Linked DNA regions of Homo sapiens: regions 2, 3, 4, 5 and 6 are each linked to region 1. Evidence: promoter capture Hi-C in human tissues and cell types (Jung and others, 2019). All regions are on one chromosome and are shown on one strand. The core of a region is centred on a gene start or on the middle of the fragment in contact, and the rest is flanking DNA. Distances in the headings are between cores, read along the strand shown.

Evidence for each region. Contacts are between HindIII fragments. The study calls those that stand out against the background at their distance.
Region 2: a fragment that was not itself captured here is called in contact with the fragment with the promoter of RPS27L in region 1 in 1 of the 25 tissues and cell types used here (hippocampus).
Region 3: a contact is called between a fragment that was not itself captured here and the fragment with the promoter of RPS27L in region 1, in 1 of the 25 tissues and cell types used here (IMR-90 fibroblasts).
Region 4: a contact is called between a fragment that was not itself captured here and the fragment with the promoter of RPS27L in region 1, in 1 of the 25 tissues and cell types used here (spleen).
Region 5: a fragment that was not itself captured here is called in contact with the fragment with the promoter of RPS27L in region 1 in 2 of the 25 tissues and cell types used here (IMR-90 fibroblasts and hippocampus).
Region 6: a fragment that was not itself captured here is called in contact with the fragment with the promoter of RPS27L in region 1 in 1 of the 25 tissues and cell types used here (lymphoblastoid cells).

The regions. Positions count from the first base shown.
Region 1 is chr15:63,154,505-63,159,612 of GRCh38, reverse strand. RPS27L (ribosomal protein S27 like) reads left to right here and starts at 2,136. Exons shown (of 4, transcript NM_015920.4): 1 at 2,136-2,213; 2 at 3,092-3,200; 3 at 3,882-3,992. The coding sequence starts at 2,208. RefSeq lists a silencer at 1,763-1,862 and enhancers at 2,044-2,617, 2,013-2,672, 2,823-2,912, 2,197-3,396. The HindIII fragment of the contact is 14,496 bases long and covers 1-5,108 here.
Region 2 is chr15:62,738,798-62,743,905 of GRCh38, reverse strand. TLN2 (talin 2) reads right to left here. Exons shown (of 59, transcript NM_015059.3): 31 at 4,361-4,558; 32 at 3,137-3,276. Among named protein-coding and RNA genes, the nearest start is that of MIR190A, 83 kb to the left of the region's middle. RefSeq lists a silencer at 192-347. The HindIII fragment of the contact is 3,403 bases long and covers 1,178-4,580 here.
Region 3 is chr15:63,538,277-63,543,384 of GRCh38, reverse strand. All of the region lies in intron 3 of USP3 (ubiquitin specific peptidase 3), which reads right to left. Among named protein-coding and RNA genes, the nearest start is that of USP3, 36 kb to the right of the region's middle. RefSeq lists a silencer at 3,541-3,835. The HindIII fragment of the contact is 4,284 bases long and covers 347-4,630 here.
Region 4 is chr15:63,466,404-63,471,511 of GRCh38, reverse strand. No RefSeq gene overlaps it. Among named protein-coding and RNA genes, the nearest start is that of USP3, 36 kb to the left of the region's middle. The HindIII fragment of the contact is 6,427 bases long and covers 1-5,108 here.
Region 5 is chr15:63,445,506-63,450,613 of GRCh38, reverse strand. No RefSeq gene overlaps it. Among named protein-coding and RNA genes, the nearest start is that of USP3, 57 kb to the left of the region's middle. The HindIII fragment of the contact is 5,139 bases long and covers 289-5,108 here.
Region 6 is chr15:63,428,533-63,433,640 of GRCh38, reverse strand. LINC02568 (long intergenic non-protein coding RNA 2568) reads right to left here. Exons shown (of 7, transcript NR_120375.1): 5 at 2,299-2,436; 6 at 1,253-1,489. Among named protein-coding and RNA genes, the nearest start is that of LINC02568, 41 kb to the right of the region's middle. The HindIII fragment of the contact is 3,938 bases long and covers 1,089-5,026 here.

The sequences.
Region 1 (5,108 bases), core at 887-3,386:
ATTAGGCCACTGATGTCTTTGGGGGCCACTATTCTGTGTATACAATTGTATTATTCTATATACTTATATACATTAAATATTTAATATTCACCAATTTTTATTAATTTTTAAGTATCAAATATTTAAAAACCCAAACCTAATGCCCAATTTAGTGTATGGCTGAAGTGAAAATATATATAGTCACAGGACAAATGCTATATGCCCATTAAGAAGCATAATGTAGAATATTCCAGCCTGGGCAACATGGCGAAACCCCATCTCTACAAACATTACAAAAATTAGCCAGGCGTGGTGGCTTGTACCTGCAGTCCCAACTACTCAGGAGGCTGAGGGGGGACAATTGCTTGAGCCCAGGAGGTCGAGGCTGCAGTGAGCCAAGATTGTGCCACTGCACTCCAGCCTGGGCAACACAGTGAGACCTTATTTAAAAAAAAAAAAGAATATGTAGTGACATGGAGTGATGCTCATTTTATAGTAAGTGGGAGGAAAATTCAAGTCTACAAAAGATTATGCACAAGATGATCCCAATTAGGTTAAGTCAAAACCCAAAATAAACCTATATCCAAGAGAGTAAAAAATATTGGGAAGGATATAGGTCAAAAGTTAAAAATGTTTATTTACAGATGGTAAATTTTCTTCTATTTTTCTGCATTTCCCAAAATGTATATTATACATGTATCCTTTTTGCAAAGACAAATAAGGTGATTAAGAACATCAAGTCAGGGCGGGACGCGGTGGCTCACGCCTGTAATCCCAACACTTTGGGAGGCCAAGGCGGGCAGATCACTTGAGGTCAGGAGTTCGAGACCAGCTTGGCCAACATAGTGAACCCCCCCCCCACCATCCCCCGTCTCTACTAAAAACACAAAAAGTAGCCGGACATGGTGATGGACACCTGTAATCTCAGGTACTTGGGAGGATTGAGGCAGGAGAATCGCGTGAACCCAGGAGGCGGAGGTTGCAGTGAGCCAAGATCGCGCCACTGTACTCCAGCCTGGGTGACAGAGCAAGACTCTGCCAAAAAAAAAAAAAAAAAAAAAAAAAATCCAGTTAGACCAATTTTCTGGTAAAGTGTCTTTCTGGTTTCTTGCCTTTTGGTCGCCCATGACACCCATTTTTCAAGCATAGAGTTTCCTCCTCAAAAATAGAGCATGCTGTCACGCGCCGGTAGTCCCAACTACTTGGGAGGCTGAGGTGGAAGGACTTCTTGAGCCTAGGAATTGGAGACAAGCCTGGGCAATATAGCAGGACCCTGTCTCCAAGGAAAAAAAAAAAAAAAAAAAGAATAATGGCGTGTTCCTGTGGTCCCAGCTACTCGGGAGGCTGAGGCGGGAGAATCGCTTGAGCCCAGGAGGTCGAGGCTGCAGTGAGCTGTGATGGCACCATTGCATTCCAGCCTGGGCAAAAAAGCGAGACCTTGTCTCAAATAATAATAATGATAAAGACTCATGTTCGGTCATCGGTGACATTCGCCTTTCTCAGGCCCCCTAGTTGTCCACTCTGCAAAGGACGAGTAATCCTCGGAAGGGGTGGGGCCTCTTAGTGAATGAGGCACAGCAGCGAATCCGTGCTGTTTTAAAAACTTTTTTTCAGAACAAAGCAAACCTAAGGCACAGCCATACCCCGCAGAAAACTTCGAAATCTGCGCCTTGAAAAGGGAAGCCAAAAGGATACGAGCCTCTTTCATAATCTCTCTGGCACGTATTAATGGTTAATAATACTGTATTTTTTAATACACAAAAGAAGAGAATAGTGGCATTGCCCCGTGTGCCCACCCCCAGAGCTAACCGAGAGCGGCCGGGCCAGGGGGCCGGGGGCTGAGCGGCCCGCCGGGTTCCGGGGTGGCGCCGGCCCCGGTGGCCGCGGGCGCTCCCTCGCCATGGCCTAAGCCCGAGGCCGCTCCCCAGCCAGATTCTGGCCTCAGGCACTGCAGAGCCCGCGGCGCTCGCCAACAAGCCCGTTAGACCCACGGGACTTGGCACCCTGGAACGCTCACCATCCCCGGGTCTTCCCTGCGCCCTGGACCCGAGTACCCTGCTGCGGCGTCCCCCTACCACCGAGAGGAGGGCCTAGAGCAGACAAGCCCGCCCCGCCGCTCCTCCCAGCAGCTTCTATCCCGGAAGTTGATGCCGAGCGCAGATCGCTTGCAGCTTGCTAGCTGTGTGGGCTGGGAGGTCTGGTAGGGCTGAGCTTGCAAGAGGATCAACATGCCTGTGAGTTGTTTACATCGGGCTCCGGGTTTGTTTTGGGCTTCTTTACCGAGAGTCATATGGGACGGATGAGTCCGGCTGCCTCTCGGGCCTGTAGTGTCCGAGAGTGGCGAGGCGGCTCAGGTTGCGCAGCGTCTTCGCGCGTGGCGGGCATGTAGTGACTTGCCCGGTCACCGCGGCGCGGCTGGCCCTGCAGGGGCGTGGGCTGCAATTCAGAGGCGGTGGCTGGGAGGGGAACAGTTCTCTGTGTAGCTTATGAGCGGTCTTGGTCTTTGAGGATGCCCCTGAGGTTGTGATCTTTGGGTCTTTTGGCTTTCCCAGTGATTGGTGTTTCTCGCCCCCTCTGCCTTCTTTCGGAAGCGATTTCCTACTTGTTTTCCTTTTTTAAAAACTGTCCTCGTTGTTGCCTTATATATTAATTCCGTCAAGGACGGTCGCTCAGCAAGAATTCCTGTCAGATCAGCTGTTGAGCCACAGGAGCAAAAATCACCCAGGCGCTGACGTTGTCTGGTCTACTTCAGCAGTTTCTACTCTAAGCGAGTCCACAGTCGGGGTCACTTTCTTTGCTTAGCACCTCGACTTCGCGCAGTTTTCATCGAAGACAGTTCATTACGCAGTTGAGTAAAGAAGGACAAAGTTTGCCTTACCATATGTTTCCTGATCGTGCGAAAGCCCTTTTCTAGGGACTTGGAGAACACAAGTATTATGAAAAGTACTGATGAAAGTTATTAACAGGTTTCGAAAAATAACTTTACTATCTGACGTGTTGCTTCTGCCGAGGATGACCGTTATTCCTGTTTTTGCATGTATATTTCACGTATGGTTAAATGTGCCAGCGTTGTGGTTTAAAACTAATAGTAATAATATGCTTCTTTGTTCAGTTGGCTAGAGATTTACTACATCCGTCCTTGGAAGAGGAAAAGAAAAAACATAAAAAGAAACGCCTAGTACAAAGTCCAAATTCTTACTTTATGGATGTAAAATGTCCAGGTAAAATTTGAAATCTTAATTCCTTTACTAAAGAAAATTTCTGTAGGGATTGCTAGTGTGGTGTGTATAGTTAAGATACATTAGAACCCTCTGTTGAGTAGAAGTGGGATTACAGAATTGGAAATGTCAGGGACATTTTCATAATAAATGTACTGAAACCATTGTAGAAACATTTCGGGGTAAGTGAAAACAGGCATTCAAAGGAGATATGCCATTTGACTTAGCAAGTCTTTAAGCTCTTCAGACGATGAGTTTTCTGTTTCATGATACAAAGAAAAGTCTGTTGATTCTTCAGTCTAAAGCTGTGCTGCCCAATACAATGGCCATTAGCTGAATGTGGCTACTGAGCACTTGTGGATAATCAAAATGTGGATACTCAAAATAGAGATGTTCTTTAATTGTAAAATACTCACTGGATTTTGACGATGTAGCACAGAAAAAAAATACATTGATTACATGTTGAAATGATATTTTGGAAATATTAAGTTTAATGAAATATATTATTGATTTTACCTGTTTTTAAAAAATTTTGTGTCGCTGCTAGAAAAGTTTATGTTACACATGTGGCTTGCTGTTTCATAGCACTGAAGTTACTGATTTTTTTACATATTACCAGAAATGTCGAACAGGTGCTGTTTTCCTCTGCTTTTCATTTTTAACATTGCCTTTTTTTTTTTTTAGGTTGCTACAAGATCACCACGGTTTTCAGCCATGCTCAGACAGTGGTTCTTTGTGTAGGTTGTTCAACAGTGTTGTGCCAGCCTACAGGAGGAAAGGCCAGACTCACAGAAGGTATATCATTTGGCATTCTCCAACCCAGTGATGAGATTGATGATTATAAATGTCTCTATCTTCACTGAAAAGTTTAAAGAAATCTTAATGATTACCAAAATAACTTATCTTTCATTGTGTGCTTTCAGTAAAGAATGGCCTGTTCAAATGGATATATTTATACTCTTGACCTTGCAGTGAACTCCATTGACTTATTTTTCTTAGTTTAGAACACATTTATTCACTTAGTTTGCTTAACTTGGAATAAATTAAGTCAGAATAGAAGCAAAAGAATAACTACATGTTATAGGACATGCAGATTTATTTATTTATTTATTTATTATTTTTTTTTTTTATTAGGAGTCTCGCTCTGTCACCCAGGCTGGAGTGCAGTGGCGCCATCTCAGCTCACTGCAACTTCTGCCTCCCCGGTTCAAGTGATTCTCTTGCCTCTGCCTCCCAAGTAGCTGGGACCACAGGCGCGTGCCACCATGCCTGGCTAATTTTTTGTATTTTTAGTAGAGGTGGGGTTTCACTGTGTTAGCCAGGATGGTCTTGATCTCCTGACCTCATGGTCTGCCCGCCTCGGCCTCCCAAAGTGCTGGGATTACAGGCATGAGCCACCTCGCCGGCCAGGACATACAGATTTTTAAAACCATATAGAATTTTAAAATTTCTTTTACAAAATTTTGTTCCATATATATTTAGTACATATAATAGTTTTTTTTTTATCATTGCCAGCTAAGCAACAGATAGCTAATATATAAGTTAAAATGCCAGAGATTTTACTTTTATGAGCAACTGCAATGATTAATATAAAAACCTAATTTTAATTCCTCTTTCACTTTAGTGCAATAAGAAAAAAAAATTATATATATAGTTTCCATAGTAATACTTGTAAATTTGTGATTCCATAATGATGTTATAAATTTGCTTGTGATATTTTGGGGAGCTGTAAGTTCCATGCTCTCACTGGAAGAGTTCAAGTGGATTGGCAGCAAATCTGAGATCTATTTGGTGTGACCTGGTGAGATCTAAATATGGAGTCAGCACATGATTTTTTTAAGAGTAATATTGCTAAGTAATATTGCTAAGTATACTTGGGAGATTTTTGAAACAAAGTATGTCATGTCATGA
Region 2 (5,108 bases), core at 1,630-4,129, 420 kb after region 1:
TGCTACCTTGAGTTCCTAGGGAGCATCCTCTGTGGACTGGAAAGCAGCTGAAACCTGGCCCGGGGGTGTGATGCTGGCCGCTGTGGGCTTAAAGCCTTCTCAGTTCTGGAGTCCTTCTGGCCAGGATGACTGTGGTGGTGAGCAGTGATTCAGGGAAGGTGTTCAGAGGTAGGATACCCCCTTCGTTTTGGCAACTGCAAGCTAGCTTTCTATTTCCTTGACTAAGTTTAGGGGGCACCTGACCAGCCCCTGGTTGGGGGAAAAAGGCTGATGAATGGGTGACAAAGGGTCTCCAGCTCCACCCAACTTGTCAGAAAAGAGCCAGAACCCAAACAGTTACACGGGAAGAAAATGAACAAACCAGGCACTAAATAGCAAATGACTTCCTCTCCCCTAGGCATCCAAAACCAAGGGGATAGGTAGGGTCCCAAAAACGTACCCAGGCTCGGAAGCAGAATTAAGAACAGAGGAAAAAGACATCCTCTACTTTTTTCTCCAGAAGCAAACCTTTTCTTCCCAGAGCAAGAAGGACCACAGAGACCACAAATAATAAGGGGTTTGAGACTGTTAACACAGGAGTGGGACAGGGCTGAGTTGGTCCAGGCCTGGGTCCCCGCAGTGGCATTTCTGGGGACTTTGAGGATACACACAGGAAGGACAGGCAGGACCTGACAGTCTCAAGAACAAGGAGGACAGAGGACTGAGGACTGAGACTATGATGATCAGATCCCTTCTGCCCAGCTTCCTGTGCACTTTTATGCAGGACTGTTCTAGGCCCAGATGAAATGAGCGGAGCATGTGGTGAGTCCTGCCTAACTCCACCAGGGCCACATAATGAGGGTTATAAATACACAAGATATAAAGACACACATAATAAGACAGGCCCTGTCTTATTCACAGTGTGCACTCAGCACTGGGCGTCACCCACATCAGGCCTGTGATGAAAATCTATGTAATGAAGACATGAATGAATAAGACAATGAATGAATGAACCCCAGCCTGGCAGAGCTTTGTGTCCCAAGAGGAGCCTGCCTGACCCTCTTGACCTGGCTGGAGTCTCTGCTGAGAAACAGCCCCAGGGAGCAGAAGCTTGCCAAAATGTGCCAAAAAACCAAGGAGAATGTGCCAGCGTTTTCTCGCAACAGTTCCATCCCAAGACAATCATTTTCATGTGATGATTTTTAAGTGCTTACCTGGCTATGAAATCACCAGGCTGGGAATTCTCCGTCAACTGCTAAAAGCCAGGACAGAAAGGCAACGAAAGCTTTTTTTTTTCCCCTTTTCCCCATGTCCTTTCTTCGAAGCCACCACCAGGGGGCCTGCACCTATTCACAGAGCCATACACCAGCAATATTCTTTCCGGCTCTGTTTCCTTCTATATCTGGCTTTCAAAAGGGCAATTTATACATTCCCCCTCCTTCCCACAATTTAGGAGAGTGAAGCCATTCCAAGCTGGAAACTGTAATTTTGAAATGATGCAAAAAATTGAAGATAATGAAAAACATCTGAGTTCTGATACCTGGAAATGTCAGTTGCCTTATCCAAAGGCTCCTTTGTAGGAAAAAAAGCAACGATCAAGAGGGGGTTTTCTATCAGAAACAGCTGCTCAACAGAACAGACATCACCCCCAACCCCACCTCCCATCTCTCCCACCATCAAGGGAGGTCACTTATTTACTAGAACAGTCACGAACAAAGCATGAGATGGGAAGATAATTTTCCAGTCCCCTAGTGGCTCTAGCTATTGTTTGCAGTTAAAATGTACCTTCCAGGAATAAATGAAGAAACTCAAGGGTTTGCAAGCAAACTGCTCTGACAGTGTCTAACCCTTCACACACACACACACACACACACACACACACACACACACACACACACACACCCCACTACAAGCCAAGAGGGAGGAAGGACATGTTTGGACCATGAGTACCATGAGATCTTATGTGCTGAGAGCTAAGGAGAGCTTTAAGGATGATGTAGTTCATACCCCCACTTTGCAGATGGGAAAGTTTAGACAGGCTGAGCAACCTGACCAATGCGACTGAGTTAGTCAAGTATTAAAGCTTGGAATATAATTCAGGTCTCTTGATGCCGACAATTTAAAAAACAGCCAATGATCTCCCAGGGGAGACATAAAGACACACACACACACACACACGCGCAAATTTTAAAAAACCAAGTTAAAAAAAGGAAAGCAGAATCAAAGCTATGCTTTTCAAAAATCACGAATCTGCACATTATAAAAAGGCCTCCAATTACTCTCTATCCCCTAATAGTCCTGCTTTTAATCTCTCTCCACTGTCAGCTTTCTTATACGTAATATGATGGTAAATAATGCTAAAAAAACATGCCTGCACCACCACAGAATCATGACCACCCTACTCTCTGGGTTCAGGAAAATGAAAGAGGGGCTGCTGATACGAGAACCCCCTGGGCTGTCACTGCAGTGCTCCACATACCACATTCAACCACTAGTTACTGAACTAACTTGTGGCCCTGGAGCAGAAACTATACTGTTTTATCCACTTCCCTGGGTGAAACCAACAGGAAAGAAGGACACCCAAATCATCCAAAATTCACACTCATGTTTTAATATATTTCCAAAAACAATTTATTCCCACTGCCTCCCTACTCATCTTAAAGTGGAGCCTTCCCCATGTGACAGATACAACATGTTACATTCAATCTAACACTGATGCCAGGCACAGGGTTAAGTGCTCAATAAAAGTCTGCTGAATGACTTGATGAGCACTGCTTTTCATCTTTACGCTTTTCAGTATTTTCTGATGTTTCAAGAAGCATATATACTATTTTATAATCAGAAAGATATAATGCTACTTAAAAAAAATCTGTTTAATTCATTGCATTTACAAGTCAAAATGGACCTTACGTCTAAACAAGTCTCTACTGAAAAGGCTGTATGAGAAGACAGAAGATATTTTTAGTGGGGAAAGAACATGGAAATGAGCCAGTTTTATAAAATATCAGAGTGTCCATCACTCTCAGCTCCACCTCCCATGACCTAAGGACAGCACCAATTCTTTTGCTCAGCAAAAGTGGGAGGATGTCAGGCACATCTTCAGACTGCAATGACACTGTCTAACCACACACGAAAGCACATTGTGTCCCACTCCTACCTTGCAGCTGCAGCCAGGAGATTTTTCGCATTGGGAGCTCCTGGATCTACAGAGAGAGACTTGGCAGCTAACAGCAGCTTGCTGGATGCCATCGAGATATTCTTGAGGTTCCCTATCACTTGGATCTGGTCTTCTTTTGTCTGGAAGGTCAAAAGGAGCCGGAGCTATTAGGGCCTGTCCATTTCTTGAAGGAGGCATTCAGAGAGCTAGGAGCAGCATCCTGACATGCAGGCAGGTTATCCGTATAGATCACATTAAACCCAGTTAGCCCGCAGATGCCTAACTCGTTGAGACACTGACCAGTGTCTACCCTTCTCCAAACAGATGCTCAGATCAAGATGCATGCCACAGGGAAAGAAATCCATCCCCAAGTGGGTCAGCCAAGAGCTGTGCTTTTCTCACAACTAGAGGCATTAAGCGGGGAGCAGGGTGGGAGGAGAGTGAGCGAGCTGTGAGCCAATGCACAGACCAGGCAGCGATTCCAGCATCTTGCTCAACAATGCTGGAGTTGTCAAGGAGCTGTACATCTCGGCCTGGCACAAACGACCAGCACTGTCTCGATATTCAGAGCTGACTGCATCCCTGAAGTTCCTGACTCGGGAAAGCACACATTTCTCACCCGGTTGCCATCTGAGAAACAATTCTTTGTAGATACTAGAAGAAGATACACCCTGGTTATCTCTTTTAGGGAGGTCAAAGGAGCGCAGAAAAAAAAAAAAAAACAAAAAACACAGCTCTGCAAGCTGACACCAGATCAGTCAAGCTCCCTTGTTCTAAACAAGGGGTTTATCTGTTCATCTGAAGGAGGTAATTTTTAATCACTTGACACTCTGTATTAGACACAGACCATCTGAATGGTCCATTAAACCTCAAATACATATATATTTTTATTGTATTATCCCACATTTGAAGAGCTGTTCTAATCTTTGTTAAACATTCTCCCTCCTCCTACCCTCCCTCCAAATAGTAAGACTATGAATTCTGCTGGAGGATCGTGGGAGAAGTTATTCTTTATTACTAACAGCACCTCATGCATAAGCTGATAGCATCTTTGGGAATGCCATTCCCATGAGGGCATGAGCTTCCTAAGCAGCAAAAAGAATGCAACCATGGCCTGCCTGTTTCCAGGTTCCTTTTCCTATTTGTTCAGTCAGTCTCAAGGATGGATTATCCATCCGAGAGGAGAGGCTAAGGTCAACTCCAGACAACCACCTCCACACCCACCTGAGCTTGGCCAGCCATCTCAATGCCAGCATCGAGGAATTCATCAAAATCATCACTGAACTTTCCAGAGGCTGCAGCCAACTCTCCACTCTGGCCCCGGGTGGCATGGACCACTTCCCCAGCAGACTGGTTCAGATCAGCTGCTGCCTGGTTCAGTTCACTCTGGGCTTCCTGGAAAGGCTTCGTGCTTGGAGGTAGCTGTGGGGAACAGACGGCACACCCCATGAGACATTCTGCTTTGCAGGGGAGGGATAAAAGGAAGGTATTGTGGAAGGGAGACAGACTCTTCAGAGATGCATTTGAGTCATCACGATTAAAAGGCTCTGAGTCATCTGAGCCCATTTTATTAATAGGTTTGACCACCAACATATACATCCATTCATTCATTTAAATGTATCAAACACCTGCTCAGTGCTAGACACTGTGGATCTAAAAATGTAAGCTATCTACAGGGGCTCAAGGTTTCCTAAGTGGCAGAGACAGGATCCACACCAAGGCAATCCGACTCCAGGGTCCATTCTCTAAAACTCTACCCTATTTTGTCTCTGTTAAGATGAAAGCTAAGTTTTAGCTTTGTAAACTAAAAGGCAGATGCTCTCAAACTTCAAATCACGTTCTTCCAAACTAATAGCCACCAATTATATTAGTGGCCTTTGCTAATAACTTTTAAATGTCATCTAGCAGACTGATAACCATTTGTGAAAAGTTCTAGGGAGTTAAGCTAGACTCTATTCATCACCCACAAACA
Region 3 (5,108 bases), core at 1,239-3,738, 380 kb before region 1:
ACCACTGCACTAAAAACTAGGTCCCTAGCACATAGTAGCTTCTCAAAAAATGTTACTTATTGAGTAAAATGTGTCTTTTTTTTTTAATGTTGTTCACAATATGTTTGAGGACCATCATGTAAACCACGATCTGTCCCAAGTAAACATTTTGAAGACAAAAACTGAGGGAGAAAAGGACTACTTTTTATAATATCAAGTTTTCTTCATAAGGGTCATTACCTTCACTCTGTACCTTTCTTTAACACATTTATTCCTAGGTGTAACCAATAGTTTTGTCATTCTGTTGAATATTTTTGCTTGGTCATTTCCATTTTCAACTGATGACTACTAATAAAGAGAAAGCTATTAGTTTGTGTACATTTCTCACACATCAGCTTTCCAAAGTGTCTTACATTTAATCCTCATTGCTGTTTTCTACTAGAGTCCCCCTGGGCTTTCCAGCTATTCTATTGTATCATTTCAAAGTAGAAATAATTTTTTGTTTCCAATATTTATGCCAATTATTTGACTTTCTGTCTACTGTCTTACTGCAATGGCTAGAACTACCAAAACAATGCTTAATAATAGTGACAATCATGTAAATGATGACAGGAAGTATTAGTCTCGTTTCTGATATAATGGAAATGGCTTTGGCATTTCATCATTTAGTATATGATGTTTGCTTTCTGGTTTTTGGCAAACTAGAAGAGCTTAAGTTTCTGTTTATTTCAATGTTATTAGTTTTTTAAAACGAGAAATGGCTATTTATAAATGTATATTTTGCTTCCAATGGGACAATAATTTGAGGTTTCCTTTAATAATGAATATGTTCATAGAACTCAGGTGAAATTAACTCTACTTGGTAATTATATAATTTTTCTTTTTGATAGCTTACTGGGTTAGATTTGCTTTAAGTTATAGTTATTTCCAACTACAGTATTTTATTTAGTAAAATTGGCTTATTTTGTTTTTGGAGTTTCTGTTAGATTTCTATCTTAAGGTTTTGAAAGTTTATAACATTAATATACTTAATGTTAAATTTTAATAGTTTGAGGCTGCACTGTCCAATAGTAGCTAGCAGTCACATGGTGCTATTTAAATATTAATTAAAATAAAAAACACTTAATTCTTCACACTAGCCACATTCAATTGCTCAATTGCTACCATACTGAATAACATATATGTCATACCCAAGACAGAGAAAAATCTCTACCTCTTTCTCAGCTTTAAAATTCTAAGTTTTTTTCAATTCCTGTTGTTAGTGCTATTGAAGTTACTCAAGTCATGACTTCCACATCATGTCCTTGAAGAACTAAGAAAATATTCCCAAAGCAAACCATTCTTCACTCATCTGAAACAAGGAGGAATAATCATACAAATAAAACATTTTTTATGCAACAGTAAAGAAACAAGTCCTTTAATTTACTGGCAACAAAGCTATCTTTATACAGTAAGCCATGCATAACACTAATACCAAAAATAAATAAATAAATAAAACCTCTTATGCAACAAACACCCCTGACACATGACAGATCCTTCATTAAGTTTCACCAGCTCCTTTTCATTCACTTCTAAGACATTTTGATATTTACGGGCAAATTTGACATCTGGTTTTATTATAAATGACAGTAATACTGAAAAGAAAAAGCAAGCTGATATTCTAGTGACTTCACCTATTTCAAACTGAGAAAGGTTAAAATCTAAAAGAATTTGCTTAGGAAGCAAGAGCATTTTTAAATTCTCTTACTAAACTCTGATGTATTGCCATCAAATAAGCCAATTATGGAAAATTAGAAGAATACCTGCAGAGCAAACCCATATCCTTTGTTAAAAGCAGACAAGTACCAGCTTATCTTAAGGAAGAGCCTTTTATGTTTTAAGATTATCTCTATTAGAAAGTTTCTTCTTAAACTTCAAAATATTGTTTTTAAATAAACAAAACTCTCCCTGTTGTCTAATTTTTTACATTGAAAATTTGCGTCCAAATCGTTTATAAGAACATCAACAAAATATTTTCCTTTTTTAAAATTTTTAATCACAACTGCTGTAGGAAATGATTCATTATCTATTTAAACTCACAAATAAAGCTTTATGTTCATTTTAATTAAAATTGCCATTTATTACAAGTGTTTAAAATCTGAAATTCAAGCCTCTTTTCTAGACAACTGATTCATATTTCACAATATTTCTTCATTTGAAAGGATGCTTTAAAACATTACCTGCCCTGAAGGAATATACTTTTAATATTCCTTTCATAATTCTTCATTCTCAAAAATTCAGCTATTATTGATAAGGATATCGAAGTTGACAAGACTATGTCAGATGTCAAAAATTATTGGTTCAGTATTTTAAATCTATTAAATACAAAGGTCTACCTCCATAAAAAAACCAAAGTTCCTAATTTTAATCTTTGTTTCTTCTCAATCACAATAATGTACACCACATACAATTCCATTTGTATTGGTTAAGGGAGGGAAATTGGGATGGGAGCAAATGAAATATTACCTAACAAACAGTAAACTAAACACTAGCTCTTGTGTGAAATCTTGGGAAGATTTTTATTTTCATCGAAATCTTAATTTACCTTTCATTTTCAAGTTAATGTGCTTATCTCCTTAAGAAGTGGGTTTGTGTCAAATCAGAATCATTCCTTTTCGCACTGCTTTCTCTCTTAATGAACAGTAACCTGATTTATATTGTTCTGCCTGGTTAATGCATGCTTCCTCTCTGGGCTCCTGTTTACATCAAGGTGGAGGGGCACTGCTCTACAAGGGTGTCCATCTTGGGAGGGAAATGAAGTAGTTCACCTATATCATGATTTAAGTTGTCTGCAGGAAAAATGTTACGTGGCTCTTTAGTCCTTCAAGATGATCAGGGGACACAGTATTATAGATCTGATGTAACCTTCCCCATTTCTGAAAGACAGTTAACAAAATTCAGTCTTTCAAACGTATGTCACCTACTCTGCACCAGACACTGCATACTAGGGAAAAATACAAAGATCTGAGATATGGTATCTGCAGTCTCCAAGGACATTTACAAATAACTAACATGCAGCATGAAATTATAAGTATTCCAAGAGCTGTGAGTTCAGGAAAGATTACATTCAGCTACAACTGGAGCTGGGGAAAGAGAAGAGTTCAGTGATAACTTCATAAAGGATTGCAAACATAGGACAGGGCAGGGACTATTGGCAAGGGGAAAGCAGGGAAAGAAGAACTGCAAGCCTCAGAGTATGTTATAACTTCTCTAGGGCACAGAGCACACTGCAAAAAAGGCTTTGACTTTAGTCAAGATATTTATAATCAAACATGTTAAACCTAATGCACCAATGTTTTACCTCTGAAATCAATCATTCAGTCTAACCACAAGAAATTAGTGTACAAGGAAAATTAATAAATTGAAGTAAAATTACTAACGGGCACGAGGAAACAACACATGCACACACTCCACACAGAAATAGGAAATCTGTTTCTTCATCACAGTGAGGTGTGGGAGGAATGTTAATTTAAACTGCATCTTCGTCAATTTACAACTATCACAGATTTCTTTTAGGCCATCAGTGTAATGCTACGGGGTGATTCCCTAGCATTTTATTCTAAAACCCACAAGTGAGCCGACAATGTGACCAGCTGCAGCTCCCTTCCTGAATTCAGCAGCTCTGGGTGTCCACACACTTGCAGCTCTGTACAACTTCACACAAAAGCCTGGCAATCGGCCAAGAAGACTCCATCATAGTGTATACTCCCCAAGGTTCAAGATTTTCCATTTAATTCCAATTCCACCATGAAACGACATATACTTTAGCAGACCATAGCGAAATAAAACCAATTCAATTCCCATTTCTAGTTAATAAAATATGCCCCTAAAATACAATGTATAAAGATATTAAAATATATAATCTACATTTTTAAAGGGCCTTGAATATAATTCCATTCCATTAAGATAATTCTTAAAATTTTCTTTAACAGTTAGTTTCCTCAGAATCTTACCAACAGCAAGAAAACAATGGCAAACTTGTTATAGCACACAGCGATTTAATTGTATTTCCAAAGTCCTCCATTAAGCAATTCACTCACATTGCTAACTGAAAATCAAAAATCAATGTTCTCAGTATCTGGTACTATAGGATGATGTGACCCATGACAATGTGAGACAGATACTTCAAGAATTATATTAATTTCTGTTGTCTAAAGCAGAAATACAAACACACAGAAACACACAGTTCTGCAAATTACGTAGCCACATCACTCTAGTATATAAGTTTCCTGAGGGAAAGGGCGAAAAAAAAAAAGAAAACCTGAGGGAAAGGGGAATGCAAACGCTTTAACTGCCTGGCTAATGCTTAACTTTGGTAGGTGTGTTTCACAACAGCAAATAACAATAAACTGAGCACTAACCTTTGTGTAAAAATCTTGGGAAGATTTTCATTTCTACTGAAATCTTCACCTACCTCTAGCTTCTCTCTCTCCAGGTCTGGACATCTTCCACACAAAGGATCACTAAAAACAGTAGTGATCTGAATGAATAACCCTTAAGATGTCTATTCAATAGCCAAAATTTAATGGTGTTGAACCTGTAAAAATGTAAAAGACCCTTTGGGAGGCCGAGGCAGGCGGGTCATGAGGTCAAGAGATTGAGACCATCCTGGCTAACACGGTGAAACCCTGTCTCTACTAAAAATACAAAAAAATTAGCCGGGAGTGGTGGCAGGTGCCTATAGTCCCAGCTACTCAGGAGGCTGAGGCAGGAGAATGGCTTGAACCCAGGAGGCAGAGCTTGCAGTGAGCGGAGATCGGCCACTGCACTCCAGCCTGGGCGACAGAGCAAGACTGTTTCAAAAAAAAAAAAAAAAAGTAAAAGACCTGGCAAACCACTGACCCTTTCTTCTTCCTTTTGATGGGCACCTTCCTATCATACAATTATCGACTAAGGACAATGTGGAAAGGATTCTCACACCATTTCAGTAGAAAGTAAATTAAAATTGTTATCTGGACTTCTCTAAATCCCCATCTCTACCCAGTAATGCCTTCATGTAACATTCAAGGGCTGTCTGACAATAAAAAATATCTCCAAAGTGATCCTTTAAATGGCTTATATCCCCTCCTTTAATGTCAACAACCTTCTGA
Region 4 (5,108 bases), core at 1,956-4,455, 310 kb before region 1:
TGCAAGTAATCCTCCTGCCTCAGCCTCCCGAGTAGCTGGATCTTCAGGTGCTAGCCAGCTGAATGCTTTCTTAAGTCTTTACTCGGCCTGCAATTAATTCCATTCCCCACCTTTTCCCACCCACAAATTCCCAGTCTCCTTCAGCATTTGGATCTACTGTCACCTTTAAATTGTTTAAAAATTATTTTTGACACAATTTCAGACTTGCAAGAAAGTTACAAGAATAGTACAAATAATTCTTGTATATCTTTCAGCCCGATACCCTAAATATTGTTTGTGACATTAACCTTAACCTTCCACCCACCCAACTACCTACCTATCTTTTTTTTTTTCTTTTTTTTGAGACAGGGTCTCACTCTGTTGTCTAGGCTGGAGTGCAGTGGCACTATCTCAGCTCACTGCAACCTCAGCATCCTGGGTTCAAGCAATTCTCCTGTCTCAGCCTCCCAAGTAGCTGGGATTACAGGCGTGTGCCACCACGCCTGGCTAATTTTTGTATTTTTAGTAGAGATGGGGTTCTGCCATGTTGGCCAGGCTGGTCTCAAACTCTTGACCTCAGGTGATCTGCCTACCTCAGCCTCCCAAATTGCTGGGATTACAGGCATGAGCCACTACGCTGCTTGCCTGCCTGCCTGCCTGCCTGGCTGGCTGGCTGGCTGGCTTGCTTGCTTCCTTCCTTCCTTCCTTCCTTCCTTCCTTCCTTCCTTCCTTTCCTTCCTTTCCTTCCTTTCCTTCTCTCTCTCTTTCTCTCTTTCTTTTTTCCTTTTTTTCTTTTTTTTGATGGAGTCTCACTCTGTCACCCAGGCTGGAGTGCAGTGGCGTGATCTTGGCTCACTGCAACCTCCGCCTCCCGGGTTCAAGCAGTTATCTGCCTCAGCCTCCCGAGTGGCTGGAATTACAGGTGCCCGCTAATTTCTTTGTATTTTTAGTAGCGACAGGGTTTCACCATCTTGGCCAGGCTGGTCTTGAACTCCTGACCTTGTGATCCACCCGCCTCGGCCTCCCAAAGTGCTGGGATTACAGGCATGAGCCACTGCGCCTGGCTGCCCCTACCTATCTTTCTATGTACTGTATCTAGAATCATAATTTTACTTTTTCTGAACTGTTTGTGAGTTACTTTACAGACATTACTCCCCTCTACTCCTTTGGTGTATATGCTTTGTAAAACCAAGGACATTCTCTTAGATAAGTATAGATAATCATCAAAATTAGGAAATTAACTTTGGTACCAACTATTTTATCTAATCCACAGATCTTATTCCGATTTCACAAATTTTTCCCAATAAAGTTTTTTTTTTTTTCTTTTCAGAGACAAGGTCTTGCTCTGTTGTCCAGGCTGGAGTGCAGTGGCACAATCATAGCTCGCAGCAGCCTCAAGCTCCTGGCCTCAAGTGATCCTTCCACCTCAGCCTCCCAAAGTGCTGGGTGTACAGGTGTGGGCCACTGTGCCTGGCCCCAGTAAAGTTCTTTAAAGCAAAAGAAAGTCCAAGATTAGACACCACATTTAGTTGTCATGTCTCTTTAGTATCCTTTAATCTAGAACAGCTTCTTCTTCTTTCTTTTTTTTTTTTTTTTTTTTGAGACGGAGTCTTGTTCTGTCACCCAGGCTGGAGTTCAGTGGTGCAATCTCAGCTCACTGCAAGCTCTGCCTCCCGGGTTCACGCCATTCTCCTGCCTCAGCCTCCCGAGTAGCTGGGACTACAGGCGCCCACCACCACACCTGGCTAATTTTTTGTATTTTTAGTAGAGACGGGGTTTCACCGTGTTAGCCAGGTTGGTCTTGATCTCCTAACCTTGTGATCCTTCCACCTTGGCTTCCCAAAGTGCTGGGATTACAGGCATAAGCCACTGCACCCAGCCTCCTTTTTGTTTTTCATGACAACATTTCTGAAGTGTCTAAGCCAGTTATTTTGTAGAAAGTACCTCATTTTGGGTTTGTTTGATGTTTCCTTGTGATGAGTTCTTGTTGTACTAATTTGGCAGAACTATCCCAGAGGTAATGCTCTGTTCATCTCAGTGTGTCATATCAGGAGGTATGTGATGTCAATTTGTTCCATTTCCCGTGATGTTAATGTGGGTCACGTGGCTGATTTGTTGCTATGTCTGAGTCCTCCCCCTGGCCCATGAAATCCTTCTCAAGGTCAAAGAGAGACTCGGCCTGATTCATCCTGGCATCATGGTACCTGAGTACTTAGAATGTTGGAAGGTGAGGAATGAACACTTACAGAGCCCCTCCCACGTGCCCAGCTCTGTGGTTGCTTCTCATTTAAGACTCACAGCGACCCCATAATTTATCCTCATTTTACAGGTGTGCTCAGTGAAGATGAATAATTTGCCTAAGAACACTTGACTGGTAAGTAGCAGATCCAGACTCAAATCCAGATCTGTCTGCCACTTCCCATAACACTAATTCCCTGGAACTAATACACCTAGTCAACATCATGCAATGCTTTGAATGAATATTTTTTTTTAATGAAACAGAAAAATCTAACACCAAGATGACCAAGAAACTTAACACCTTTCTATATCAGCAAGGATTCATTTTTTCCTTCCTTTTTATTCATTTATCCCTTCAACAAATATTTATGGTGGGCTTACTATGCACCAGATGGTGTTATAGATAACAGGGCTATAATAGTGAATAAACAGCTTACATTCTAAATACTAGAAAACCCAGCTAAGGTCATTTCAACAAGAAAAAGGCTAGCATTAGAGTAGCTTCAAGGTTGGTTAATTTAGTGACTCAAAGGTGTCATGGCTAAGGTTTGGGTTCTCTGAGACTCTTTTAGTCTTCTCCTTTGGTCAACAAGGTGTTTGCTTTAGTTTTAAGCAAGACATCCTCAAAGGAAACACAGGGGATGTTCCTGTCATTGTCCCTTTATATGAGCAAAGAAAGTCTTGCTAGAATCCTCCAGGCTGACTTCCCTTCCACCTCATTGCCAGAACTATATCATCAGCCCATGCCTAAATCCATACTTGGCAAGAGGATTGAGCCACTATGCCTGGCTTAGGCACTCTGGACTCACACCCCTACCCCACTCCAGACTACCTCTGAGCTCAACCTTCCCCAAAGCATTTGGTCATCAGAAGAGTAGGCAAGTGAACAAAATTGCAACTTTTTTTTTTTTGAGACGGAGTCTCACTCTGTCGCCCAGGCTGGAGTGCAGCGGCGTGATCTCGGCTCACTGCAAGCTCCGCCTCCCGGGTTCATGCCATTCTCCTGCCTCAGCTTCCTGAGTAGTTGGGACTACAGGTGCCCGCCACCACGCCCAGCTAATTTTTTGTATTTTTAGTAGAGATGGGGTTTCATCGTGTTAGCCAGGATGGTCTCAATCTCCTGACCTGGTGATCCTCCCGCCTCAGCCTCCCAAAGTGCAGGGATTACAGGTGTGAGCCACCGTGCAACTTTCTTTTAAGAAGGAAATAGGGGAAAGGTTGTTAAATAGGCTACTGACAAAATTTTTCAAATCTCCCCTCTCCTAGTTTACCAAATATTTAGACTCTGTGGCTTCTTAGAAACTCTTGTTTATACAAATAAAATTTGCCTCACTGCTATTCCTTGTATTAATTTCTGCTTCTTTTTACTTACCGTTAAGTCACATAATGTCTTTCTTTATATATTCCTATATCTTGTCCCATTCCAAAATAAGGTCGCTTTTCCATGAGTATACAGAATCTTAGCCAGGGGAGGTTTAAAAAATATCTAATAACTAGTACTAAGATGTTCATTGACCACTGCTTCATGTGGGATCCTGGAGGCTGCTGGGCCAGGCATTTACTATTTAGTTGCTAGATCAGGGGGAGTTCAGGAGGATCCCAGTAGAGGGGCAAGGGAGGCTTGGAGGACACTCTGGCTCTACTATTTACCAGTTGGTATGAAAATACTTATTTTAACAACTAGTATAACAGTCCCCACGTGACAGGCTGGACGTCGGTGCTAATCTGCATGACAGCCATTTCCAGTGTGAGTATAATGACCACGGCACAATTTTCCCCACGGTCGGGCATCTGGGCTGCCTCTGGTTTTAACTGCAGTATCAAGCTCAGTTCTACACAACTCTATATGTGCTTTTGTTTCATTTTTATATTTTATAAACTTATTTATAAATATGTATTTCATATTTTGTTTCCTTGGAACATATTTCCCAAAGTGGTATTCCAAGGTCAAAGGGTTTGATCAATTTTATAATTTGACATGGTGATTTTTAAAAGCATTTAACCATGGGTTCAGAAACATCCTTGCCCATTTTTTCACAGACTCCTGTTGCTGGAGAGCTGGCAGGCAGTACGGTATGGTGGAAGGAGGGTGGGTGCTGGGTAAGGAGAGCGGGGCTCGGGTCTGGGCAGTGTTTCTCTACTAGGAGTGGGGGACTTGGCAGTGTCTTAGCCTCTGTGAAGCTTGGTTTCCCCAGCTGTGAAATGTGAAACGTGGGAGGTGCCATCTCTCCCAGCATCAGGCACAGCAGGCATCAGTTGCCTACATCTGTTCCTGATCTTGGCCTGAGGCCCTGGCCATCCTTGTCACACCCTCACCCTGGCCCACCTTTGTGGAGGGTAGGCTGAGTAACTTGACTTGAACAATTAACTGTCAAAGTGTCAAGGAAGGTGTGGGTTCTGCACCATAAGGAGGTGTGTAGACTGCCATCTTCTGGTGCAAAATGTTAGTGTCCAGATGATTTAGGGATCAAGCTACTCTCCCTTGTGTCCCCATGAAGATCTGTCCCCCCCGGGGGAAGCTGCAAGAGAAGGGGCGGGGGGGTTCTCCCAACACAGGCTGGCCCTAGAGTCTGGTACTTTAAGGTGATGTCCTCCTTCTGCCAGTGACACTGAGAGAGAGGAAGATGCTGGGTTTTGAAAGCCTGCTTGTAAATGAAGGTGCTTTTTGAGACTGTGGAGGTGATGGCAAGAAGGATCTTTGTGAAAACAGGAGGTCTATATCAGCAATTTACTAAACCGGTTCAGAGAGGCTGACAGCAGTGGTCAATCAGTCCACAAATATTTACAGAGCGCCTACCATGTGGCAGACACATGCTCTGGCAAACGCTGTTGAAAGAGACAGGCAGGGTTCCTGCTCTCATTGTCTAGTGGGAAACATTGGTGATAAGGTT
Region 5 (5,108 bases), core at 1,609-4,108, 290 kb before region 1:
GAGGCTGAGGCAGGAGAATGGCGTGAACCCGGGAGGTGGAGCTTGTAGTGAGCCGAGATTGCGCCACTGCACTCCAGCCTGGGTGACAGAGCGAGACTCTGTCTCAAAAACAGACACACAAACAAAAAAACCCACGTGTCTTTCACTGCCTCTGGGTCTCTTCTTCGGCCTTTTGAGCCTGGTGCCATTCCCCAGTGGAGTCGATAGGGGTTTGGCACAGCAGGGATCAATCCAGTCACCCTGCCCTCCCCCCACCCATCGGAGGAGATAGCAAAGAATGGTCTCACTTTATATCAGCTGTACTCTCTACAAAGTTAATCATCAACCTCATCCCAATGCATCTTGCAGAGATTGGAGGTGGAGTGGTGGGGTTTTGGGGGAGAAATGAGGTACTGGCGCTGCAGAAATGGCGCTGTGCCTTTCAGAAAGTTTATACAGGGGTAGCTGACCCCGCAGCTGGAGGTGCTCTAAAAATGTTAAAGGTTTCCAGCTGTTGGCTCTTGGGAAATTCTGGAAATGAGGAAAATCCCACTATCATGTCCTTAAAATACAAGGAGGCGAGTGCTACACCAAGGACGTTTGCCAACAGGACAGGGGCAGGGCCACCTCTGCTTGGGTGGGGGGTGGTGCGTGGCTGAGGTTGGACAGTGACTTGGAGAAGCCAGGCACTTGCTCAGAGAGGGGAGGGGCCTTCCAGCCAGGGAAGAGTATTTGCAAAGATCCTGGCAGGAAGGACAGGGAAGAGTCAGGAATCCTGGCCTGGCTGGCTGGTAGAGTGCCTGGGGGCAGAGGAGGGAGAGGCTTCTGGAAAGTGGGTTGCAGACACTTGTGAGGGTTATGACTGCCCAAGTAAGGGGCATGGCCTTGTGTTGACTTAAAGGGGCACTCAGAGTCTTTAGGTAGGAGAGTAACATAACAAAATGTGTGTTGTTTCAACTTTTTTGCATATTATCTCTTTATGATAAAGGGTATTACAATGGCCTGTATGTTTAAACATTTTACATTTCTAACGCTTGTTTTTAAAATTATAGGGTGTGCAACATTCCAGAACAAAAATTTCCATGGGATTTTATAGAACAATTAAGAGGAGATACATTCTTTGTGCAGCTATTTTAATATAGTAGTCTGCTATATATACTTTTTCATTTCTATTAAATTATAAAGGGTACTAAGTAATTGTAAAGTCTGAATAAATCTATGTTTATAGAAGAATATTGCCGAGGTCAACACAAATTACTATTTTTATTTGCATTTTCAATTAAAAGATTAACTTAAACCTCACCCAGTGACTCCTGACATGTACAGTGCTTACTTGACACAATATTTTCCCACTTCTGCAGTAACATAGGCAAACAATTCAGTAACTTTTGTGCTTTTAGAAACAACAGCCAAGTTTCAGAAAAAAAAAGTATTTTCTCTGGTTCTTCACAGCTCACCTTGAATATTATTTGTTGGGTTTTTTTGGGGTTTTTTTTGTTTTTTTTTTTTTGAGATGGAGTCTCGCTGTGTCACCCAGGCTGGAATGTAGTGGCGCAATCTTGGCTCACTGCAACTTCCGCCTCCCCGGTTCAAGCGATTCTCTTGCCTCAGCCTCCCGAATAGCTGGGACTACAGGCCCGTGCCACCACGCCTGGCTTTTTTGTATTTTTAGTAGAGACGGGGTTTCGCTGTGTTAGCCAGGATGGTCTCCATCTCTTGACCTTGTGATCCACCCACCTCAGCCTCCCAAAGTGCTGGGATTACAGGCGTGAGCCACCACACCTGGCCCTATTTGGGTATTTCTAAAACTACTCGTACTTTTCCTTTTATTTAAAAAATTTGAAAACATACAGAAAAGTTGCAAAGACCATACAACAAGCACCTGTATACCCTTCGATGAGATTCACCAGTTGTTAACATTGGACCACAGTCTCTCTCTCTCTGCACCTCCTGGGTGTTGATGTCTCTTCAGTTCCCACCTTTGGAGAACCTGAGATCTTGCCCTGCTCTGAAACTTTTCAATCTTCCCTACATCCAAAAAATTTACACCCACCAGGCTCCCAGTTTCTCATTGTACTTCTTTCTTTGAAATGAGGAGTAAGAAGATTTGAGCTCAAATTCTGGTTCCTCTATCTTGTGACCATGAGGAAGACAATGTTTCTGGGCTCCAGTTTCCTCATTTTTAAAACGGAAGAATATGTGGGGGAAGAGGGCGGGGGAAGGGAGAGCATCAGGACAAACGGCTAATGCATGTGGGGCTTAATACCTAGGTGATGGGTTGATAGGTGCAGCAAACCACCATGGCACATGTTTACTTATGTAAGAAATCTGCACGTTCTGCACATGTATCCCAGAACCTAAAATAAATTTTAAAAATAATAAAATGGAGGAATAATGCTTAAAAAAAGTCAAAGTATATGAAAGTGCTTTGTGAACCCTAACAGCTCCATAAAAATGTAAGGGGCCATTATTACCATAAATGAAATCCTCTGATGTATTAACAGCTTAATGAGTTAATGCTCCCAAGTTATCAAGGCAGCCCGATGAACTGGGAACCAGTTTGAAGCCAGAGAGATCTAGTCTGCTATTAATTACTTGTGTGACCTTGGGCAAAGTTGTGTAACAGACTCTCTGGGGTCTTAGTTTCTTCATCTGCAAAATGGAGATCACGATCCCTATCTCGCAGTGGAGTTATTTGTGTTTGCTCAGCCCCAGGGCTTGCTGGACTGACCAGGGCTGCAGTAGAAGAAGACGGAGAGGTGAGGGTTGAGTGTTGGGGTGAGAGGGCACAGGGGCAATGATTCTCAACCTTGGATGCACATTGGAGTTATCTGGGAACTTTAAAAAAAATTCCAATGCCCAGGCTGCACCTGGGACAAATTATCAGACTCTCCAGGGGGTGAGGCCAGCCATCAGTATTTGTTAAAGCTCTCAGGTGATTCCAATGTCAAGTGAGCTAACAAAGCTAACTTCTGCTGTCCCTTCTCTTCTCTCCCTTTGGGACCATGACCCAAAAGAGTAACTAATGGGGGCAACCCTAGGCCTGGTGCAAAGTGGTGAAGAAGGCACTCCAGGATAGGCAGGACTTTCAGATCCTCTCCAACACAGGCAGCTGCGCACTGGGGCTGCCTAAGCTTCCTGAGTGTATTTAGGTCCAAGTCATTAAGTGACATCATTTGAAAGCTAAAAAGATCAGATTACAGCATCATGTTGATACCCTTTCTCCCTTACCACCCCACCCCCCCAAGTACAAAGGATCTTATTTTTAAAAACTCTCCTTAATGATAGCTACATACCGAAATGTTGTTGAAGCTGTCTGTTCAAAACATCAGCAATATACTTAAATGTATAATAAGCACATTATGCATTTAGCCTGGGGTTAGAATTGTCAGCCAGAGGCTTCCAGGAGACCACGTGGGCACCCTCCAGCCAGGTCCTCCTATGCTGGGCTGTTCTCTAGCCCGCATTTGAATAATTTGGGTTTAGGAATTACAATGAAGCTTTGCATCTATATTATGTTCTTGCTAGGATGTTTTGGGGAAGGCTGTAATTTAGTGCTTCTGCCCCCAAAGATGGGGAGCAGAGTCCTGCTTTGTCAAAAGGGTGGCAGGAAAAGCAGGAACTAGACCCTGAAGTCTTGGCTCTGAGGATCCCTCTCTCCTTCCATGAGCAGTTGCCTTTGCTTTTTGGGGAGCTTTCCTTTCCCAGGTAAATGGCTAGTTTCACCTGGCATGAGGTTTGCTAGGTAGATGCTGCAATAAATAGTGCAGGTGATTCAAATCGCCTAAGTGGCAGAACACCTGGAGGTTGTAGTGCTTTTTCAGCTACTGTGCCATTATCATTTATTATGTGCCAAGTGCTTGATGGACATTGTGGTATCTAAACTGCCCTACATTCTGCAAGGTGGATACTATCCCCACTTATTTTCCAGTGATAAAGGCTCAGAAAGGTGAAATAGTTGCCCAAAGTTACACAGCTAGTAGATGGCAAGACCAAGATCGGAAACATAGAGCTGATGGACTCCACTCTCAGCATGAAGCTACACTGTTTCATGAGGCCCACATTATCAGCCCCACCACCTCCTCTGGTGGTGAGGCCTCCTCAGAAGCATGAGGATTAATGAGCAAGTCTTGTCTCCACCTGAAACAATCGAGCTGCTAGGTGGTACCTGCAAAAGGCCTCCCCACCCAGAATGGTTTCCTCTTACGTCCACAACGACCACCACCACAGACATGACGATAATTACATAAATGGCATCAAAGAAAGACATTTCTTTCACTCTGGCATCATGGGAATGTCCCCAGCCTTTTCTGGGAAGGTCTCACGTGGGTACATCTAGAACAAAACACGGGCCATCAAGATTCATCTCTGACTTTCACACAATGTTTTTGTGCCACTTTTTGTGCCCACCCATTGCTGTTCCCCCTGGGTAGCAGAAGCCAGAGTTGTAATACATGTATCTTAACATCTAGTCTTGATTTTTAAAATTCAGATCTATAGCATCTCACAATCACAGCATCGTAAAGCTGAGAAGGACCTTGAAGCTCATCCATTTTATTCTGAGACAGGGTCTCACTCTGTTACCCAGGCTGGAGTGCAGTGGTGTGATTGCAACTCACTGCAGCCTCGACCTCCTGGGCCCAAGCGATCCTCTAACTTCGGCCTCTTGAGTAGCTGGGACCACAGGCATGTGCCACCACGCTTGGCTAATTTTTAAATTTTTGGTAGAGATGGGGTCTCTCTCTATTGCCCAGGTTGTTATTGAACTCCTGAGCTCAAGCCATCCTTCCGCCTCAGACTCCCAAAGTGCTGGGATTACAGGCCACTGCGCCCACCTCATTTTAATCTCCCTTATTTACAGTTGGGGAAACTGAGGTCTAGAGTTGCTCAGACTCTTGCTAAGGCTACATCATGTTAGTGGTGAGGGCACAGTATTCCCACAAAAGGCTGCTGGGTCATGGGCTCCCTTTCTCTTTGTCTCAGAGCTTTGTTCCTCTCTCACACTTGATTCTTTTTCTAACCTGCTTCTGGTACTGCTCCATCAAGAGATAAAGCAAGCTGAGCAGGACCTGTGGGCACAGAGGAGGGAACGGGGCAGTCACTCACCCTCAACCCCAGGCTGCATCTTG
Region 6 (5,108 bases), core at 1,808-4,307, 270 kb before region 1:
CTTTATAATTCTCTGTATGTTATTTTTTGCATTTAAAAATATTATTTTCATAAAGCGGTGGCAGGAGTTATGTGGACATAGTGTATGTGGCGAGAAAGGGTCAGGTTCTGGATGTGTTTTGCAGGTAAAGCTGGCAGGACTTGCAGATGGATTAAAAGTGTGGAGCAGGAGAGGAGGGGAGCGGAGTTAGGCCTCCTGGGTCTTTGGCCTGAGCAGGTGGATGCAAACCAATGGTGTCACAGAGAAGAGGCAGATGAGGGGAGGAGCAGGTTTCGGGGGCAGGAAATGGAAAGCTTCATTTTTGCATGTTGACTATTGTAAAATGAGGAATGATGATTGTGCTAGGAAGAAATCATGTTTATAAAGCTCCCGACACGTAGTAGAGCCCAGTGGTAGCTGTGATTGGTAACTTGCCCCAGATCAAGAAAGCGGCAGCAGTGAGATGGGAGCTGGGTCTCAAGAGCAGGGTCTAGTAGACAGTCGTATGTATGAATCTAGAATCCGGTCGTATATATGAATCACACTTGATTCACATATATCATGTGTGATATGATTGCAACTTAGCAAAGTGTGTATGTGTGTGAGCAAGGTCTGGAAAATGAATTAATGAAAATGAAAATAGTGGTGTTAGGTTGTTAGGAGGCTTCAGTCTACAGATGTTATTTAAAGCTTTAGGTCTAGATACAGTAAATATTAATGCACCCATTTTCTAGAATTGAGGCTCAGAACCACAAAACCCATTTGTTACCTATCATGGGCAGAGACAATTCCTTCAGCCTGGTCTTCTGCTACTAGTGTTCCCTCTTTGCTTCACCAGGCTGAAAATAACCTAGTGTGGTGGGCTAAGACCCTCCTATAAGGACGACTGCAAAGACGAATTATCCGGCAGAAGCCTCCCTGTGCTAAATCTGGCACCACAAAGAAGAAATACACAACGCTTCCTTCCATGTTGACAAGTGGAACAACTTTCTCCTAATTTGGATCCCTGTGTGCCTGCGGAGCCCATGGTCACTTCATATTCAATGCTGAAATTGAACTGCTCCAGCCACAGTACATTTCAGGCAGAGATTACTTTAGAAAGGTGGTAATTAGCTGCACAGCCAGAGATGTTCTCATATACGACTGCTCACATTGACACTAAACCTCAAACACTGTTTACCAGAAGCACAAGGGTGGTTAGTAATTTTCTCTCAGACACTAACGCCAGGAGCAGTCGTGACCAAAGTGACTGACTGGGCCTCGGTTTCCTTACCTGTGAACCAAACAGGTTCAATGAGGTGTAGTGAACATCCCAGAGGCTCTAAAGTCAGGTTTCAATTTTCTCTGAACTTGCTTGGTCTTGTGTGGGTGCCCTGCAATTCTGGGGAAGGTCCTCATCCAGGGAGGAGGGAGAGTTCCAGGTGAGGGCATCAGGCTTTCTGTTCCTGACTCATTGCTTGGATCTGGAGTAAATCCTTCTATGTTTTGGGACTGCATCCTTTTTAAGCTCCTGAAAAAGAAGGGAAGCTTTCAGAAATGACTGGAGGGATGAATTCTTTGATTACAGAGCACTTGAAACACAGTACAAAGGGCCCAGAATAATTCTTTTCTTGAATCACCATAGAAGTATTTCTCAAGTATTTTGTATCACACGGACCATGGGCATTTGTATAGAGGTAAATGTGATTCAGTGGAAAAAATGTGGGCTCCGGAGGCAGGAGACCCAGCCCCAGTCTCAGTGCTGCCACTTTCTGGGTGACCTGGGGCAAGCTGCTCATTATAGCTACTGCCGGTGCTTACTATGTGCCCGGCGCTTTATAAAAATGATTTATTCCCAGCACAATGATCATTCGCCAACTTACAGATGAGGAGACAAACTGAGTGCAGTTCTCCAGCTGGGAGATGCAGGGCTAGCATCTCGCGCATTCAGACGCGAGATGCCTGGACAGCCTCAACATCCATTCTTGTACCTTTGCAGTCTTCCCTCACCCCTGCAGGGAGGCCTGGGGAGAAAATGCACGTGAAGCACCTGGGACATTATAGTTGCTCAATACACATCAGTTTTTCTCTCATTTCCATGCTAGATATGGAAATGCAAAGAATACAGGCTGGTAGTTCCAGAGAAGATTCTTTCCATTCTCTCTCTCCCCCTGCTTCCTCCAATTATTTAATTCTCACCAGCATTACAGCCATTGAGAAATATCAGCTGGAAGGCAACTCCCCTAGCCCCTCATTCAGGACTCTGCTTTCTCGGGGTCTGTGGGAAGAGCGTTTTTGCTGACCTTACTTAGGACCAGCTCATATCCACTGAGTACTTACTATGCACCAGCTGCTGCAACCAGCACCTCGTGGGCATTTTCTCACTTCATCCTCAGAACAAGCCTGTGAGGCAGATGTGATTGACAGCTCCATTTCAGAGGTAAGCACACTGAGTCTTAAAGAGGGCCGGTCACTTTCCTGAGTCCACACAATTTGCCAGTAGCAAAGTCAGAATTAGAAATCAGATCTGCTTTATTCCTAAATTCTTCATGCCCCTTGGAAAATAGACATTTCTTTGGGCAAACTGGGATTTGCCCATCTGCTCCCAGCTGTCTCCTTTGCTCTCCTGAGAATGCAGTAAAACAAAACCAAGCCTAAAATAGGTTAAGTCTAAAATGAAGATTCCCAGGCATTTGGGAGTCCCCAGGGCTTTAAGTAAACAATCGTCATCAAAGGGAAAGCTTTGTGTGTTGCAGGGCAAAGACACACCCTCTGACTTAGTAATTGCACCCGTGGGGTTTCTGCTAAGGCTATATTTAACATAAAAACCTCCACAAGTATATTTATCAAAAAGTTATTTCAATATCTGAAATTTAGAAGCAATATAAATATCTCAAATAAGGAAATGGTTGGTGAACTACTGTGCATTGACAAGACAGAACATTATGTAACCATTAAAATTATGACTCTTTAGGCTGGGTGTGGTGGGTCACGCCTGTAATCCTAACACTTTGGGAGGTCAAGGCGGGAGGATCATGTGAGCCCAGGAGTTCGAGACCAGTCTGGGCAACATGATGAAACCTCATCTCTACAAAAAATACAAAAATTAGCCAGGCATGGCAGTGCATGCTTGTGGCCCCACCTACTTGGGAGGCTGAGGTGGGAGGATCACTTGAGCCTGGGAGATTGAGGCTGCAGAGAGCAGAGATTGTGCCAGTGCACTCCAGCCTGGGTGACAAAATGAGACCCTGTTTCAAAAAAAAGAAAAGATGATTATTTAGACTACATAGAAATGGAGAAACGTTTATGTACATATCATATATGATTAAGTGTAAACGGTATAAAATACATGTGTGATATGATTGCAACTTAGCAAAGAGTGTATGCATGTGAGCAAGGTCTGGAAAATGGATTAATGAAAATGAAAATAGTGGTGTTAGGTTGATAGAATTACAGGTGCTTTTCATTTTTCAATAAAGCAGTACCTGTTCATGTTAAAAACAATTCAAACAATAAAAAAGGTGTGATCATTAGAGAAATTCAAATCAAAACCACAATAAGATACCATCTCACACCAGTCAGAATGGCTATTATTAAAAAGTTAAATAACAGCTGGTGAGGTTGTGGAGGAAAGGAAATGCTTATACACTGTTGGTGGGAGTGTAAATTAGTTCAACCATTGTGGAAAGCAGTGTGGCGATTCCTCAAAGAGCTAAAAACAGAACTACCATTCAACCTAGCAATCCCGTTACTGGGTATATACCCAAAGGACTATAAGTCATTCTACCATAAAGACACATGTACATGTATGTTCACTGTAGCACTGTTGACAATAGCAAAGACGTGGAATTAACCTAAATGCCCATCAATGGCAGATTAGATAAAGAAAATGTGGTGCATATACACCATGGAATATTATGCAGCCATAAAAAGAATGAGATTACGTCCTTTGCAAGAACATGGAGGGAGCTGAAGACCATTATCTTTAGCAAATGAACACAGAATCAGAAAACCAAATACCGTGTGTTCTCATTTATAAGTGGGAGCTAAATGATAAGAACACATGGACACATAGAGGGGACCAACACACACTGGGGCCTATCAGAGGGTGGAGGATGGGAGGAGAGGGAGGATCAGAAAAAATAACTACTGGGTCCTAGGCCTAGTACCTGAGTGACAAAACAACCTGTACAACAAACCCCCATGACACAAGTTTACCTATGTAACAAACATGCACACGTACCCCTGAACCTAACATAAAAGTAAAAAAAAAAAAAAAAAGAGTGAAGTTGAAAGTATTTCAGCTCTCCAGTGGTAGCGCCTATCACATTTTCTTATACCCTTGTCATGAAAGAGTTTTTACATTTAAAAATATCCTTAATGCTATTTTTAGTTAAAAACAAAACAAGTCTTTTTTTTTTCACAATGGCCAATCCTCATGTCTTTCAGATCATTTGAATTTTTTAAATAAGATTTTACTTTGTTTATTATAATTATTTTTAAGTTCTCACTCTGCTGCCCAGGCTGGAGTGAAGTAGTGCAATCATAACTCACTGCAGCCTCAAACTCCTGGGCTCAAGTGATCCTCCCTCCTCAGCCTCCCAAGTAGCTGGGACTACAGGCATGTGCCACCATGCCAGGCTAATTTTTTAAAGTTTTTGTAGACATGGGGTCTCGCTGTTGCCCAGGCTGGTCTTCAACTCCTGGGCTCAAGTGATTCTCTCACTTTGGCCTCCCAAAGTGCTAGGATTACAGGTATGAGGCACTGAGTCTGGCCTGTTTATTACAATGTTTTATTTTTTTAAATTTTGGACATACAAAAAAAATTAGAATATAATATAATGGTCATATGTGTAACTTCTACCCAGCAAAAAATTTAAAACATTTAAGATGTAGTCAAGGCCTCCTCCTGATTCCTGATTCCATTCCATCCCTCCCTCTTTGTTGATACTATGACTCTCCTGAATTTACTGTTCATCGTATTTTTCTACTTTTGCTATATATATGTATGTGTGTGTGTATCTTTCTTAAAAATATTCTTGTTTTGCATGTTTTAAATTTTTCTCCAATTTATATAATACTGTTTAGATTCTTCTGAACCTTGTTTTTTTCACTCAATATTGTTTTGGTGAGATTCATCCATATTGACA